Linked DNA regions of Homo sapiens: regions 2, 3, 4 and 5 are each linked to region 1. Evidence: promoter capture Hi-C in 16 types of primary human blood cells and fetal thymus (Javierre and others, 2016). All regions are on one chromosome and are shown on one strand. The core of a region is centred on a gene start or on the middle of the fragment in contact, and the rest is flanking DNA. Distances in the headings are between cores, read along the strand shown.

Region 1 (2,700 bases), core at 145-2,644:
CAGGCTGGGATGGAGAATTCCTGGGAGGAAGAAGTGGGGCAGAACCCACTGATATATGGAGTTCCACATTTATACCTTTGTAGCAGTCAAATCTAAGAGTTTAACACGGTGGCTCCACGTTGTAATCCCATCAGTTTGGGAGGCCAAAAGCAGGAGGATCACTTGAGGCCAGGAGCTCGAGCTCAGCCTGAGCAACAAAGTGAGACCCTCATTTTTCTAAAAAAAAAAAAAACCAAAAAACCATAAGCTTAAATGATCGAGTATTGGAAACGCTTTCTAAGGCCCTGGAAAAATAGAAGTTTTCTTAATAATAATGTTAGCTTCCATGTATTGTAAACCTAAACGAAGCAAGAATAAATGCTGGGTGCTGTATATAGCTCTATCAACCTATAATCACCTCGAAAACTCGAGGAGACACATTCAGCTGCTCCCATTTCACGGATGAGGAAACAAGTACGCAATCCTGAAGCTGGTGCAAAGCCCAGGCCCCCTTTCTTTTTCAAGCGTGCTTCCAGCCTCTGAAGTTCCTCCGTACGGACCCCCAGCTCTGCCTGCAATAAGGAATATTCACTTTGCCAACAAATATTTATTGAGTGCCTGCTATATACCCCTTAGCCCGTTTAAATAGCCGTGGGATTAAAAAGATAAATAGGGCAGGATTTTTTTTTTTCTTCCAGGAAGGAGCTTTCTGAAGGGTGAGGGAGAGGCCAGGTAAACAATCCCAGAACAGTCTGGTGAGAGTTGGGAGAGGAGTCGGGGGGCCGCGGGACGCTCAGGAAGCGAAGCGGGGAAGGCTCCGGGCGCGTCGCAGGACCCGCGCTGGAGATGGGTTTGAAGCCCTGTCCTGAAAAAGCCGGCCCGGAGTGGGCTGTCCCCGGTGTCCCTCGAGTTCTCATGCTGTCATTCAAGCAGCAGAGGAAGAACCGGGTCTGGCTCGGGAAGGGTGGGCTTAGGGCCAGGGGTGCAAATCCCTCGGTAAAAGCCGGCAAACTAAAAGTCGCACACATCCCAGGTCCCGGTCCAGGCCCCGGCGGGGCAGGGTCCCCGAAGTCCCGGGGCGCGCAGACGCCGGGGCCCCCGGGGGCCAAGGGAACGGCGGGACCCGACCTCCCTGCCCTCGGCCTCCCGGGCCCTCGCCCTCCGACCAGCCGCTGAGTCGGGGGCTGGGGTCGCCGCTTCCGCCCGCGGCCCGCTGCCCCTCCCCGGCGCGCGCCATCCGGCCGCCGGCCCCTCCTCCCGCGGGGGGCTCCGTCCCGCGCCCCGTCCCTCCGGGCTGCAGCCGGCAGCCCACGTCCAGGGAGGGCGGAGGGAGGAGGAGAGGCGCGGAGAGGAGGGAGGGGAGAGGGGAGGGAGGAAGGCGAGAGAAAGGGAGCTGCTTCCATCCCGGACTTCCCAGAGCCTGCCTGGAGCGCGTACTCAGCGGCTCTCGGGTCCCAGCGTCCCAGCCGCGGCCCGCGCTCCTCCGCCCCGCTCCTCCTCCTCCTCTTCCTCCTCCTCCTCCTCTCTAGGCACCCCCGTCCCCTCCTTCCAGCGGCTGCAGCCCCCAGCCCCAACTCTCCGCGCTTACTCCTGGGACGCGCGTCCTCGCCCCATCCTTTGCTTCCTTCCTTCCTTCCTTCTTCCTTCCTCCCCTGGCTCCCGCCCTCCCTCTCCAGGTCGCCCTCCCGGGGCCCGATTGTCTCGGTGCCCCGCTCCCGGCCCGCGCCCTGCCCCGTCTCTCCCTTGCACTTCCTGAGTCGCCCGCCGCCGCCGTCGCAGACTCGCCGCGGGAGCCCCAGCCCAACCCGAGCCCGACAGCCACTGCCCCGGCTCCAGCTCCAGCCCCACAGCCCGCGGCGCCCGCCCGAGGGAGCCCCGGCGCCCGGGGAAGGCTCCAGTGGGCTAGCGCGCCCTCGCCCAGCCCCGCGCCCCAGCCCTGCCCGGCCCGGCGAGGAAGGACCGGGAAGATGAACAACGGCGGCAAAGCCGAGAAGGAGAACACCCCGAGCGAGGCCAACCTTCAGGAGGAGGAGGTACTGGGCGGCTCGGTGTGGTGGCGGGGGCGACGCGGGACCCAGTGCGGGCGGCCGGCGGGGCGCGGGCCCGGGGCGCGGCGGTGGAAGAAGGTTCAGGCATGGCCCGTGCCCCGGACGCAGCCCCACAGTGTGGCCCGGGGAGGGTGGATCTCGGGAGCGTGTGTTTTTGTGTCCACGCGCGTCTGCGGGCCCCAAATTGCGTAACTCCAAGGACTTTTCGGAGACTTTTGTAAGTATAATGCTCAGCTTTGTTTGCCCGGGATTTATAAGTGGAACCGAGAGCTGACTCCTGGGTGACCTCAGATAATCGGGACTCGGAGGGTCAGGACTTAGGGCCGGGGCTGGAAATTGTGTATGGATTCAGGGTCGGGGGGGGAGCAGTTTAAGGAAGAAACTCGGGGGAAAGTTCTCGTTAAAAGATACCTCTATTCCCTGCCCCCTCCCTTTCCGTGTTAAAAGTTCTTGGTGAAATATCTTTCTAGCCGAGGTTTTTTGGATTAATAGATAACTCATCAGCCACATTCTTCTCTGCTGAGTCAAAGACCCCGAGCCTGGGCGGTGAACGCTTGTGATTTTAGGGGCCGTGCAGCTGAGGGGAGCAGAGTAAGAGGGTTAAAAACGCAGCAATTCACCAAATGCTCATCGAGGGTATTTTCATAGGACTTTGACTTCTGAGCATGCATTT
Region 2 (2,700 bases), core at 113-2,612, 130 kb after region 1:
TTGTACAGATGGGGTCTTGCTTTGTTGCCCAGGCTGGTATCAAGCTCCTGGTGTCAAGCCATCCTCCTGCCTTAGCCTCCCAAAGTGCTGGGATAGCAGGTGTGAGCCACCACACCAGGCCAGGACAATGGATTTTAATGGAACATAATAGGAAAGCTCATTGATAAGGTTTCAGATTCCATAATCCAAGACATCTTTAATAACCACCCCTTAATAAGTGTTGGTGTAATAGCAGAGAAGAATATCCAGTTACCTGTAAAGGGTATTGAAATATTACTCCTTTGACCAGCTAGATGCATGTCTCTGTGAGACCATATTTTTTTCATATACTACAGCCAATACAATATGTTACAATAGATTTAATTTGAAGCAGGTATAAGAAACCAGTTGTCTTCTATTAAACTAGATACTAAAGAGATTTGCAAATATGTAGATCTAAAGTTTTATCTTTTTTTCTAAATATGTAGATTTCACTAAAATATTTTAAAAAACATGAATTAATAAACTTTTTTTCTTTTTTAAGAGATGGGGGTCTTACTTTGTTCTTCAGGCTAGAGTGCAGTGATGCCATCACAGCTCACTGCAGCCTCCAGCTCCTGAGCTTAAGTGATCCTCCTGCCTCAGCCTCCTGAGTAGCTGGTACTACAGGCACGCACCACCTTGCCTGTCTAATTTTCTAATTTTTTTGTAGAGATGGGGCCTCGCTTTGTTGCCCAGGCTGGTCTTGAGCTCAAGCAATCCTCCCACCTCAGCCTCCCAAAGTATTGCCATTATAGGCCTTAGGCACCGTACCTGGCCCCTTACCTTTTTTAACTTCAAAAGTTTATAACATGGTACAAAACCACACAAAAGTTCTTTTAGGCTTGATCGTTTTTACGTGTGTAAAGGTGTCCTAAAACCAAAGTTTAAAAACTTCTGGTCCTAATAATTTAAAATTAACATTTTTTGGCCAGGCACAGTGGCTCACGCCTGTAATTGCAGCACTTTGGGAGGCCGAGGAGGGCGGATTACTTGAGGTCAGTAGTTCAAGACCAGCCTGGCCAATATGGTGAAACCCAATCATTACTAAGAATACAAAAATTAGCCGGCTGTGGTGGAGGGTGGGGCACCTGTAATTCCAGCTCCTCAGGAAGCTGAGGCAGGAGAATTGCCTGAACCCAGGAGGGAGAGGTTGCAGTGAGCTGAGATCGTGCCACTGTACTCCAGCCTGGGGGACAGAGTGAGTGAAACTGTATCTCAAAAAAGAAAAAACACCTGCAAGCTTTTGTGTCAGCCTCTCCTTTAAAATGGGTCTTTTATTTCTGCTGTGTATTCTGTAGTGACTAGCCCACGAGTAACTGGTTGTATGATGAGCTGGATAACATACCAGCCGTTCATATAGTACCTCCTTGGGAGACTCTACCCAAGTATCTTTCACAAATGCCCAATTCTCTCCCACCACAATACCAGTTCCAAATGTGGTACAAGCTTATTTCAAGAAATGTGGAAATTAAACAAAAATTTTTTAATACAAAGATGTAAGGCATTTATAAAATTTTTTAAATACAAAGATTTAAGGCATTCCAAAAACATAGTTTTTATAATACGTGTATATAAAACCAGGTATAGTGGCATACGCCTGTAGTCCCAGCTACTCAGGAGGCTAAAGCAAGAGAAGGAGTTGAGCCCGGGAATCTAAGGCTATAGTGTATCTTGTCTGTGAATGGTCACTGCACTCCAGCCTGGCCAACATAGCTTGACTCCATCTCTAAATACACACACACACACACACAGACACACATGAGTTTTCCTCATGTGAATTGATTTTTTTAATAATATAACTTATTTCAATCTGTATGTTTTAAAAATTGAATGCTGAAAATTATGTTACCCACCCAGAGATAAGTATTTTAACATTTTGGATGAATAGCTATACAGATATACACATAGATATTGTATGAATGGGATTTGACATTACATCCTGCTCTGATACCTGCTTTCATTCTCAGCTCTAGACCTTATTTTTTTTGTTTATCAATAGATATATAGGCCAAGACCCCGTGTGTGTGTGTGTGTGTGTGTGTGTGTGTGTGTGTGTGTGTGTGTGTGAAATACCATGTAACCAAAGCTCTTTTCATTTTGGAAAACATTGGCAGAAATGATGGTCGCTTAGAGAGTTAAATCTCTGGGTAAGTATAATGTAATCTGTGCAAACTCAGGTCCCTTATCCTTCTTTTCATTCTGTGCTTCGTGTAGCCACTAGGACCCTAGCTATACTGAGATACAGTGGAGGAGCAGCAGTATCTCTACTTAAACAAAATAGTTTAATTAGTGGCTGAAGGTGGAGGGGTGTCTTTCTGTCTTTTAATTAAATAGCCCTCAGAAGGTCAAGGAGATCAAACTGGTCAAACATTAACAGTTCTGTGCAGGAAATTATGGTGAGTTCCTGTTCTAATTTTCTCACTTGAGTTTAGCAAACATTTGAGGGGAGGTGAGAGATTAAAAAGCTGAATAAGGTACAGTTCTGCTCTTGGAGTGTTTACACATAGTAGAGGAAACAGGCCTGTAAGGAGCTGCCGTGTGTAAGGTAGAGCAAGTGTTCAGTTGAAGTTATAGACAATGCTTGTGCAACTGATGAAGCCAATCATTATTCAGTGTATGGGAAAGACCTGGTGGTCTTCCGCTTTTAGCTGAACATGAGAAAGATTTCAGTTAAGTAGA
Region 3 (2,700 bases), core at 194-2,693, 150 kb after region 1:
GCGCCTGTAGTCCCAGCTACTCGGGAGGCTGAGGCAGGAGAATGGCGTGAACCCGGGAAGCGGAGCTTGCAGTGAGCCGAGATTGCGCCACTGCAGTCCGCAGTCCGGCCTGGGCGACAGAGCGAGACTCCGTCTCAAAAAAAAAAAAAAAAAAAAAAAAAAAAAAAAAAAAAACTGATAACTATGACAAGTTAGTAGTTTCCACCTTTTTTCGTCAAGGACTGGAACCTTTGCAGATTTAAGAAAACTGACATTTTCTTAAAAGTCAAGGAAATGTGCTAAACTGTAAATCATTGGGTGGATTACATAATTCTGAAGTTTATATCCTCTTGCTAGTTTTAAGTTAGTTGTAGGCACTTTGTAATATCGTTAATTTTAACTAACTTTTCTTGAATATGTTCTGTGTGCCAGACATATGTGCTAAGGATAGGAGATAACAGTTTTGTGAAGGACATAGACACAGAAAAAGAAAATTTTTCGTATAAGCAGTAGGTGCAGTGTTCAGGGTACACATAGCCTGTTTTGGGAGGTGTAAGAAAGGATATCTGGTCTTTACTGGATTTTCAAGAGTGCTCCATGCCTTGATGAAGACTCTTTTAGGCAGCACCTGTCCCAACTAAGAGTCCCTGCTAAGAAATGGAAAGTTCATTAGATCAGCTTCATTAATTATCAAAGAAATCTACATTAAAATAATAGACTTTAATAACATTTCTTTAGATATAGGGTGTCACTATGTTTGCCTAGGCTGGCCTTGAACTCCTGGCTTCAGGTGATCCTCCCACCTCAGCCTCTGTAGTAGCTGGGATTACAAGCATGTGCCCTGTTCTGTTTTTAAGGATGATTCCCAGTGTTGTTACATTAAAATTTGGTACAAATGTTGCTACTTTGGGGATTATACATTCAAACAGCACAGTTAGGTGTATTGAGATCCTTAAAAATGTTCATTTCTGAAAGCTTGGCAAGGTTATCTGGAAGGCTGAGGAGAGAGGATCACATGGGCTCAGGAGTTGAAGTTGTAGTGCACATTGATGATCACACCTGTGAACAGCTGCTGCACTCCAGCCTGGGCAACATAGTGAGACCTTGTCTCTAAAATAAATCAATAAATAATGAATGAATGAATGTCTGCTATGTAACATGCGCTATGCTAGGTACTGGAGATACAGCAGTAAGCACAACAGACACAGGCCCTGCACTCAGGGACCTTATAGTTCAATAAGAGATCATCTCTCTCTTTTTTTTTTTTTTTTGAGATGGAGTTTCACTCTTGTTGCCCAGGCTGGAGTGCAATGGCACGATCTCGGCTCACCGCAACCTCCGCCTCCCAGGTTCAAGCCATTCTCCTGCCTCAGCCTCCCTAGTAGCTAGGATTATAGGCATGTGCCACCACGCCCAGCTAATTTTGTAGTTTTAGTGGAGACGGGGTTTCTCCATGTTGGCCAGGCTGGTCTCGAACTCCCGACCTCAGGTGATCCGCCCGCCTCGGCCTCCCAAAGTGCTGGGACTATAAGCGTGAGCCACCGCGCCTGGCGAGATCATCTCTTTTTATGGACTAGATAGAGATGTACCCAAGCAGCAATTTCAATTTCATTGAAAAGACACCTCTGCCTCCCCTTGCTGTCATAACCATCCTTCTCCCTTGCTCCCTTTCCTCCCTCACCAAATAACAGATGTATGCCAGAAGAGGTGTGTGAGTGACAAATGAAAGTTATACTAAAACACTGTTTTTGTTTGTTTATAAATTTTTTATTTTTAAAAAATTAATTTCCACCTGAATCATAGATTCAAGTTGCCCTGAAGATATACTTCCTGAAACACTTTTTTTATGTTAGAAGAAATTTATTTTCCTTCCTTTTCTACTCTTTCTCCTTTGTGGACCTCCTTTGTGGCGGGCACAGTAGTGAATCTAACAGAACAGTATGCTGCTCTCATGAAGCTTACCCAGGTCTCTAGCAGAGTGGGACTGAGCAGATTTTCTTATGTTGTTCATAGATGTAAAACCATTACGTTTTGAAAATACAGCTCCTGTTAAACATCCAGACTTGATTGCAGTTGTCAAAATCCAGGCTCGCAGAGAGGCTGGCAGACACTTGGAATATTCTGCTAATGCCAGGGAATAGACTTTCCTGGGGAAACTCTGGGTAACCCTCATCCCAGCAGCTGCAGGTCATAGGAAGGAGGAGGAATGAAAATGTCCCCATGTGATGAGTAAGAGTAGGTAATAGTAGTGGCTTAAGTTCCCAGAGGAACAGTTTTCTTCCCACTCATGCTCAGGGTTCCCTTCAACTCTGATTAGAAAGCAGATCCTTTTAAAATCCTGGATTGCATCGCATGATTTCTTAGCCTCGAAGAAGTGGGCAGCAAAGGAAGAAGACAACCATCAAAGCAGTGACTGGTCAGAACAGCAGAAAATCATTAAATGGAAAAGTGACTCTGGGCCAGTTGAATCATGACCAGCTTGCTTTTGGAATTTCCTTGGCATATTTATTTTGGGGTCTGCTTGCTTTTTTGCAGAAAACTTGTTGCTTCTGCAGTTTGTATCAGAGAAATAGTGGAGTGGGGAGACGGTGGAAGTTAAAGTCAGTCTGGCTGAGAACCCGCATTTGGGTAATAGAAGTAGGGATGGGAATGAGAAAGACATAGAGAATATGTCTTTACATAGAGAATATGTCTTTATCATCAGTAGGTGGAGCTAATGAA
Region 4 (2,700 bases), core at 137-2,636, 220 kb after region 1:
TAACCCCAAAGAAATGCTATTAAGAAATTCTAGAGCTTCATGTACACTCTTACAGAGCTACTGCAATCTCTTTCCTATCAACCACCCGCCTCAAGTTAAACATCTGCTTACACAACAGACATGCTACACTATGCTGCCATCTGCAGAGCAGACTTAACACTAAAATTCCCACTGAGAACATTTAAATATGTTTGTTGAAGGCATCAAAGTAAATGACGGAGAAACTAAAACTTAACTAGAGATACAACTATATTGGGAGGAGAGAGATAGGTATAGGAAAGAGAAATGACAGTAAGTCACACAATGTTTAAAGTTGAAAAAAAATCAAGAAACAATAGCATAAGCATATTATTAGCAATTGGGAAAAAACTGAAGAATCCAAAATAAAACTAGTTAAGCAGCTGCCACAAAAGAAAGGGACTGCAGCTAGAGAAGGGAAAGGCACATCTGCCTTTTAGTATAGGCTCTTACTCTCTATCTGAACTTGTAATACTTGTGATAGGTTTTTTTAAGTACTGCAAATATTTTTCAAAATGATTGTTATTATACCTAAGAATAAAGGAATCGGTTATTTCTTAGATTTTTTTTTTTTTGAGCTCAGAAATATCTTAAATGGTTTTTAACTTTCTTTTTTAAAGGCAGAGTCTCACTCTGTCACCCAGGCTGGAGTGCGGTGGCACAATCAGCTCACCGTAACCTCTAACTCCTGAGTTCAAGCTATACTCTTGTCTCAGCCTTGTGAGTAGCTGAGACCACAGGCATGCGCCACCAAGCCTGGCTAATTTTTCAGTTTTTAATAGAGATAGGGTCTCACTTTTTTGCCCAGGCTGGTCTTGAACTCCTAGCCTGAAGCGATCCTCCCACCTTGGCCTCTGAAAGTGCTAGGATTAGAGGCATGAGCCACCATGCCCAGCCTTAAATGTTTTCAAAAGCAAGAAATATAAAAATTAGCATAAAGGCAACATTGCAAGTAACGAAGACTGAAAGCAATATAAAAATCGCCAGGCAGTACTGAAGTCTTTGTTCAACAGGCACCTATCACTACAATGGATAGCATAAGTTCACTACATACTTGCTTTGTTATATAAAAGCTTATTAGAAACAACAACATCAAAGAACTGGAATATTCTGCACATTTTTATTTAATTAACATTTATTGTGAACCAATTACATGTAAGATACTCAATTGGGATTTTCACAAAAATACAATTTCCTAAAACAAGTTCAGGGAAACTAAAGCCCTATCTACCAGAACCACAAGCCTGGATATCTATAGACAGATAACAAAAGGAAAACTTAAGGTTACTGCACAAATCACAAAATCAATTAAATTGATGTCCAATTATTTTCCTGCCATTTTATAAAACTTCAAAAGTAATACAAATTTACAGTAAAATACCACCAACACTTGCTAAAATGGCAATTGGTAAACTTGAATAATACATTTTTCATCACTAAACCCTTGTTTAATGACAAATTATTGACAAAAATTTAAAACTAAAGTCCAAACATACGTATCATATACTTAGTAAGAGATTCAATATACAGCTTAGCATCCAACTCCACAATTTCCAGAAAGAAAAACATCATCTCCTTCCTTATTCAATTTGATAACTGAAAGATTCATAAGATAAGAGAACACTATTCACCAATAAAAGTTTATTCTTTTTCCCATCCTGTATCAAGCTTTTGTATCAGGATATGAACTTACATTTGTAAAAGTCTAAAGATAAAGAAATAAACCCGTTTGGTTCAGTTGAGCTATAAACATTAAGAAATCCTGAACTGCGATTGTAAGTATAATTAACCTAAAATCTTTCAAATCACATATTTCAAATTGCATTCTAAGCAACAATATGTTAGACACAGGGGCCACTGGCTGTGTTCTAAGAAATGATAATGCTAAAAAAGCAATATAAGATTTAAATTATAATTGTATTATAAATATTAATTTTACCACCCTAAAATTGTAATATACTTGCAAACTAAAGTATAATACAGAAAAGCTCACCTTCATCCACAGAAAACTGACAGCTCTTATCATTGAAGAAAAGTATTTTCTTCTTATCGGGACGATTTACAAATAGTATCTGGTCCCCCAAAGCCTTAAAGATAGATAAAATAAAGATTTTTCAGTTAACTCCAAATTACCTCACCAAAAAAAAAAAAAATTTAAACAATAAAGGAGTTTCATTTCCTTAACACACTCAGTATACCACCATAGGGTCCTCCACCATAGGTCCACTGGACCCAATTTTAGTTTTAGTTTTGTTTTTAAGAGACTCCACCCAGACTGGAGTGCAGCTCACTGCAGCCTCAACCTCCCAGGCTCAAGCAATCCTCCCACCTCAGCCTCTGGAGTAACTGGGACCACTGGTGCATTGCCACCACGTCTAGCTAATGTTTTCAATTTTTTGTAGACAAAGGGTCTCACTATGTTGCCAGGGCTGGTCTTGAACTCCTGGGCTCAAGCGATCTTCCCACCTCAGCATCAGAAAGTACAGGGACTATAGGTGTGAGCCACTGCACTCAGCCCCAATTTTAGTTTTTGAGTTTCTTTCTTGAGTAGTTCAATTTTTTAAAAATTGATATTTCCAGACTTGTATTCTTAGAGGTCTTCCAAAGAACAAAAATAAAACGTGTTTCACTTAAAACGGAAAATTCAATCTTTGCTGCAATTACTATTTGGGTCCATGGGGC
Region 5 (2,700 bases), core at 96-2,595, 180 kb before region 1:
TTGGTTCTGGTGGCTGTTTGTTACCATGGCTACAGAACAATCAGTCTTTCCCTAAATTTGTGAGACCCTTTTTATTCTCATCCCAACCTCTTCCATGTTTTCAGTAACCTCTTCTATGCTGTCCCTCAGGAGAGCCTCTGCTCTTTTTTTATTCATGTATTTATTCAACAAACTGTTATGGGGTTCAGAGGAGAATAACAGAGTTCCTGTCTTCAGAGTACCTACAGTCTAGAGAGGGAGCCCAGCTAAACAGTTAATTCCAATTCAGTGTGGAGGAATGCCCAGGGAACCCAGAGAGGATACTCACTTTGTCTGAGAAACAGAGGGAAGTTTCACAGGAAAGGTGTATTAGTCTGTTTTCATGCTGCTAGTAAAGACATACCCGAGACTGGGTAATTTATAATGGAAAGAGGTTTAATTGACTCACAGTTCCACATGCTGGGGAGGCCTCATAATCATGGTGGAAGAGCGAGGGGTGTCTTACATGGTGGCAGGCAAGAGAGCATGTGCAGGGGAACTCCTCATTATAAAACCATCAGATCTCGTGAGACTTATTCACTATCAGGAGAACAGCATGGGAAAGACCCACCCCCATGATTCAATTACCTCCCACCGGGTCCCTCCCTTGACATGTAGGAATTATGGGAGCTACAATTCAAGATGAGATTTGGTTGGGGACACAGTCAAACCGTATGAAGAGGAAAGCCTTGACTGGACCTTGACCTTGACTCAACCTTAGCCCTTACTCTGTGAGCACAAGTACACAGGACGATACTTGTGATGGTTAATATTGAGAGTCAACTTGATTGGATTGAAGGATGCAAAGTATTGTTCGTGGGTGCGTCTGTGAGGGTGTTGCCAAAGGAGATGGACATTTGAGTCAGTGGACCGGGAGAGGCAGACTCACCCCTACTCTGGGTAAGCACCATCTAATCAGCTGCCAGCTGAATAAAGCAGGCAGGAGAAGATGGAAGAGCAGACTTGCTGAGTCTTCTGGACTTCATCTTTCTCCCGTGCTGGCTGCTTCCTGCCCTCGAACATCAGACTCCAAGTTCTTAAGCTTTTGGACTCTTGGACTTACACCAGTGGTTTGCCAGGGGCTCTCGGGCCTTTGGCCACAGACTGAAGGCTGCACTGTCGGCTTCCCTACTTTTGAGGTTTTGGGACTCGGACTGATCCACCACTACCTTCCTTGCCCCTCAGCATGCAGACAACCTATCGTGGGACTTTACCTGGTGATTGTGTGAGTCAATTCTCCTTAATAAAATCTCTTTCATATATATATCTATCCTATTAGTTCTGTCCCTCTAGAAAGTCCTGATTAATACAAGTCAGGAAAAGGGTCTTTCAACAGAAGCAGCTTAACAATAGTTACTAATATTCTATATTAATCATAGAGATAAGAAAATAATGGTTACCTACTGTGTGCTAGGCATTTTCCTAGCTGCTTTAAATGGATTGTCTTCCTAAAAGCCCACAAAAACCTTATGATTAGATACCACTAATACCTGATTTTCCTGTGGAGAAATCCTGTCAGGGAAACAAATATAATAACTAGCCCAAGGTTTTTTGGTGAGTAGTACAGCCTGGATTCAAATACAGACAGTCTGACTTGGATACCTAGGAAGACTAAGCTTTGATTTTTTTTTTTTTAATCTTGCCCAAATTCCTGTCTAAGGGGCCTGGAGAGTCATGCCCTACAAACCACAAATTCTCATCAGATGGCTTTTATTTAACACTATCTATCATGACTTACTTTCCAACCTGACTCTGGCATAACTTCACAGGACAAGGAAGAAAATCAAAATATTTTACCCCAAAACATGTTTCTTTGCCATATCTTGATATGGCCTGGCAAAGATGTTCTTTCTGGGGGAAATTTTGCATCTGTAAAGAATCTCTGTTAACATAGCTAGATTTTTTTCTTCCAGGTCCTCTCAATCCTGAAGAGATTAATTAAAACTCCAGCACCTTTTAAACATCTAAATAGGAAACACTTGTCATCTATTGTGTCTAAGGGCAGCCACTATAAGACTTCAGAAGAACCCTGATCTCCACAATTTTTTATTCTAACCTGAATATTTCATTTCTATCGATCTCAGGTCTTTAGACAAACTCCACCAATTGTCAATCAGAAAACGTTTAAATTTACCTATAGCCTGAGAGCACCTGCTTTGAGTTGTCCCGCCTTTCTGCACTAAACTAATGTATTTCTTGAATGTATTTGATTGATGTCTCATGCCTTCCTAAAATGTATAAAACCAAACTGCTCCCCCACCACCTTGGGCACATGTTCTCAGGACCTCCTGAGGGCTGTGTCACGGGCCATGGTCACTCATATTTGGTTCAGAATAAATCCCTTCAAATATTTTACAGAGTTTGACTCTTTTCATTGACACCTATTTGGCCCTTCTTTGATAAATTACAAGTTCAGTAGAGGCCACCCAAGGATAACCCACAGAAGAAGTTCTTCAATTTCTGTATGAACTATTCGTAATCCATCTTAACAGGACATTTACAAAGTTTGGGGCACGCATCACAATTTGCATTTGGAAAGTATTTGAATAATGTTCACAAGGTAAAATTCATTGATTTTGGTGAACTAATTGTGGACAACATGTTAATAAAATTTCAACTAATTCTACACAATGCTGTATTTTAATGGCTGAAATATTAAAAATTTATATCCTATTACTGAAC

Evidence for each region. The method cuts DNA at HindIII sites, captures the fragments that hold promoters and counts their contacts. A CHiCAGO score of 5 or more calls a contact.
Region 2: a contact is called between a fragment that was not itself captured here and the fragment with the promoter of RBPMS in region 1, in 1 of 17 cell types (endothelial precursors). The highest score is 9.3, in endothelial precursors.
Region 3: a fragment that was not itself captured here is called in contact with the fragment with the promoter of RBPMS in region 1 in 1 of 17 cell types (endothelial precursors); the score reaches 11.3 in endothelial precursors.
Region 4: a contact is called between a fragment that was not itself captured here and the fragment with the promoter of RBPMS in region 1, in 2 of 17 cell types (endothelial precursors and megakaryocytes). The highest score is 11.1, in endothelial precursors.
Region 5: a contact is called between a fragment that was not itself captured here and the fragment with the promoter of RBPMS in region 1, in 3 of 17 cell types (endothelial precursors, M1 macrophages and M2 macrophages). The highest score is 7.3, in endothelial precursors.

Annotation. Positions count from the first base shown.
Region 1 is chr8:30,383,147-30,385,846 of GRCh38, forward strand. It overlaps RBPMS (RNA binding protein, mRNA processing factor), which reads left to right and starts at 1,395. Exons shown (of 9, transcript NM_001008710.3): 1 at 1,395-2,012. The coding sequence starts at 1,947. It overlaps RBPMS-AS1 (RBPMS antisense RNA 1), which reads right to left and starts at 2,255. Exons shown (of 3, transcript NR_046205.1): 1 at 1,998-2,255; 2 at 398-551. RefSeq lists enhancers at 1,182-1,852, 1,853-2,524. The HindIII fragment of the contact is 8,815 bases long and covers 246-2,700 here.
Region 2 is chr8:30,515,151-30,517,850 of GRCh38, forward strand. All of the region lies in intron 5 of RBPMS (RNA binding protein, mRNA processing factor), which reads left to right. Among named protein-coding and RNA genes, the nearest start is that of SMIM18, 120 kb to the right of the region's middle. The HindIII fragment of the contact is 206 bases long and covers 1,260-1,465 here.
Region 3 is chr8:30,534,895-30,537,594 of GRCh38, forward strand. All of the region lies in intron 5 of RBPMS (RNA binding protein, mRNA processing factor), which reads left to right. Among named protein-coding and RNA genes, the nearest start is that of SMIM18, 100 kb to the right of the region's middle. The HindIII fragment of the contact is 982 bases long and covers 953-1,934 here.
Region 4 is chr8:30,605,046-30,607,745 of GRCh38, forward strand. GTF2E2 (general transcription factor IIE subunit 2) reads right to left here. Exons shown (of 8, transcript NM_002095.6): 6 at 2,012-2,105. Among named protein-coding and RNA genes, the nearest start is that of SMIM18, 32 kb to the right of the region's middle. The HindIII fragment of the contact is 595 bases long and covers 1,090-1,684 here.
Region 5 is chr8:30,198,903-30,201,602 of GRCh38, forward strand. No RefSeq gene overlaps it. Among named protein-coding and RNA genes, the nearest start is that of DCTN6-DT, 44 kb to the left of the region's middle. The HindIII fragment of the contact is 574 bases long and covers 1,059-1,632 here.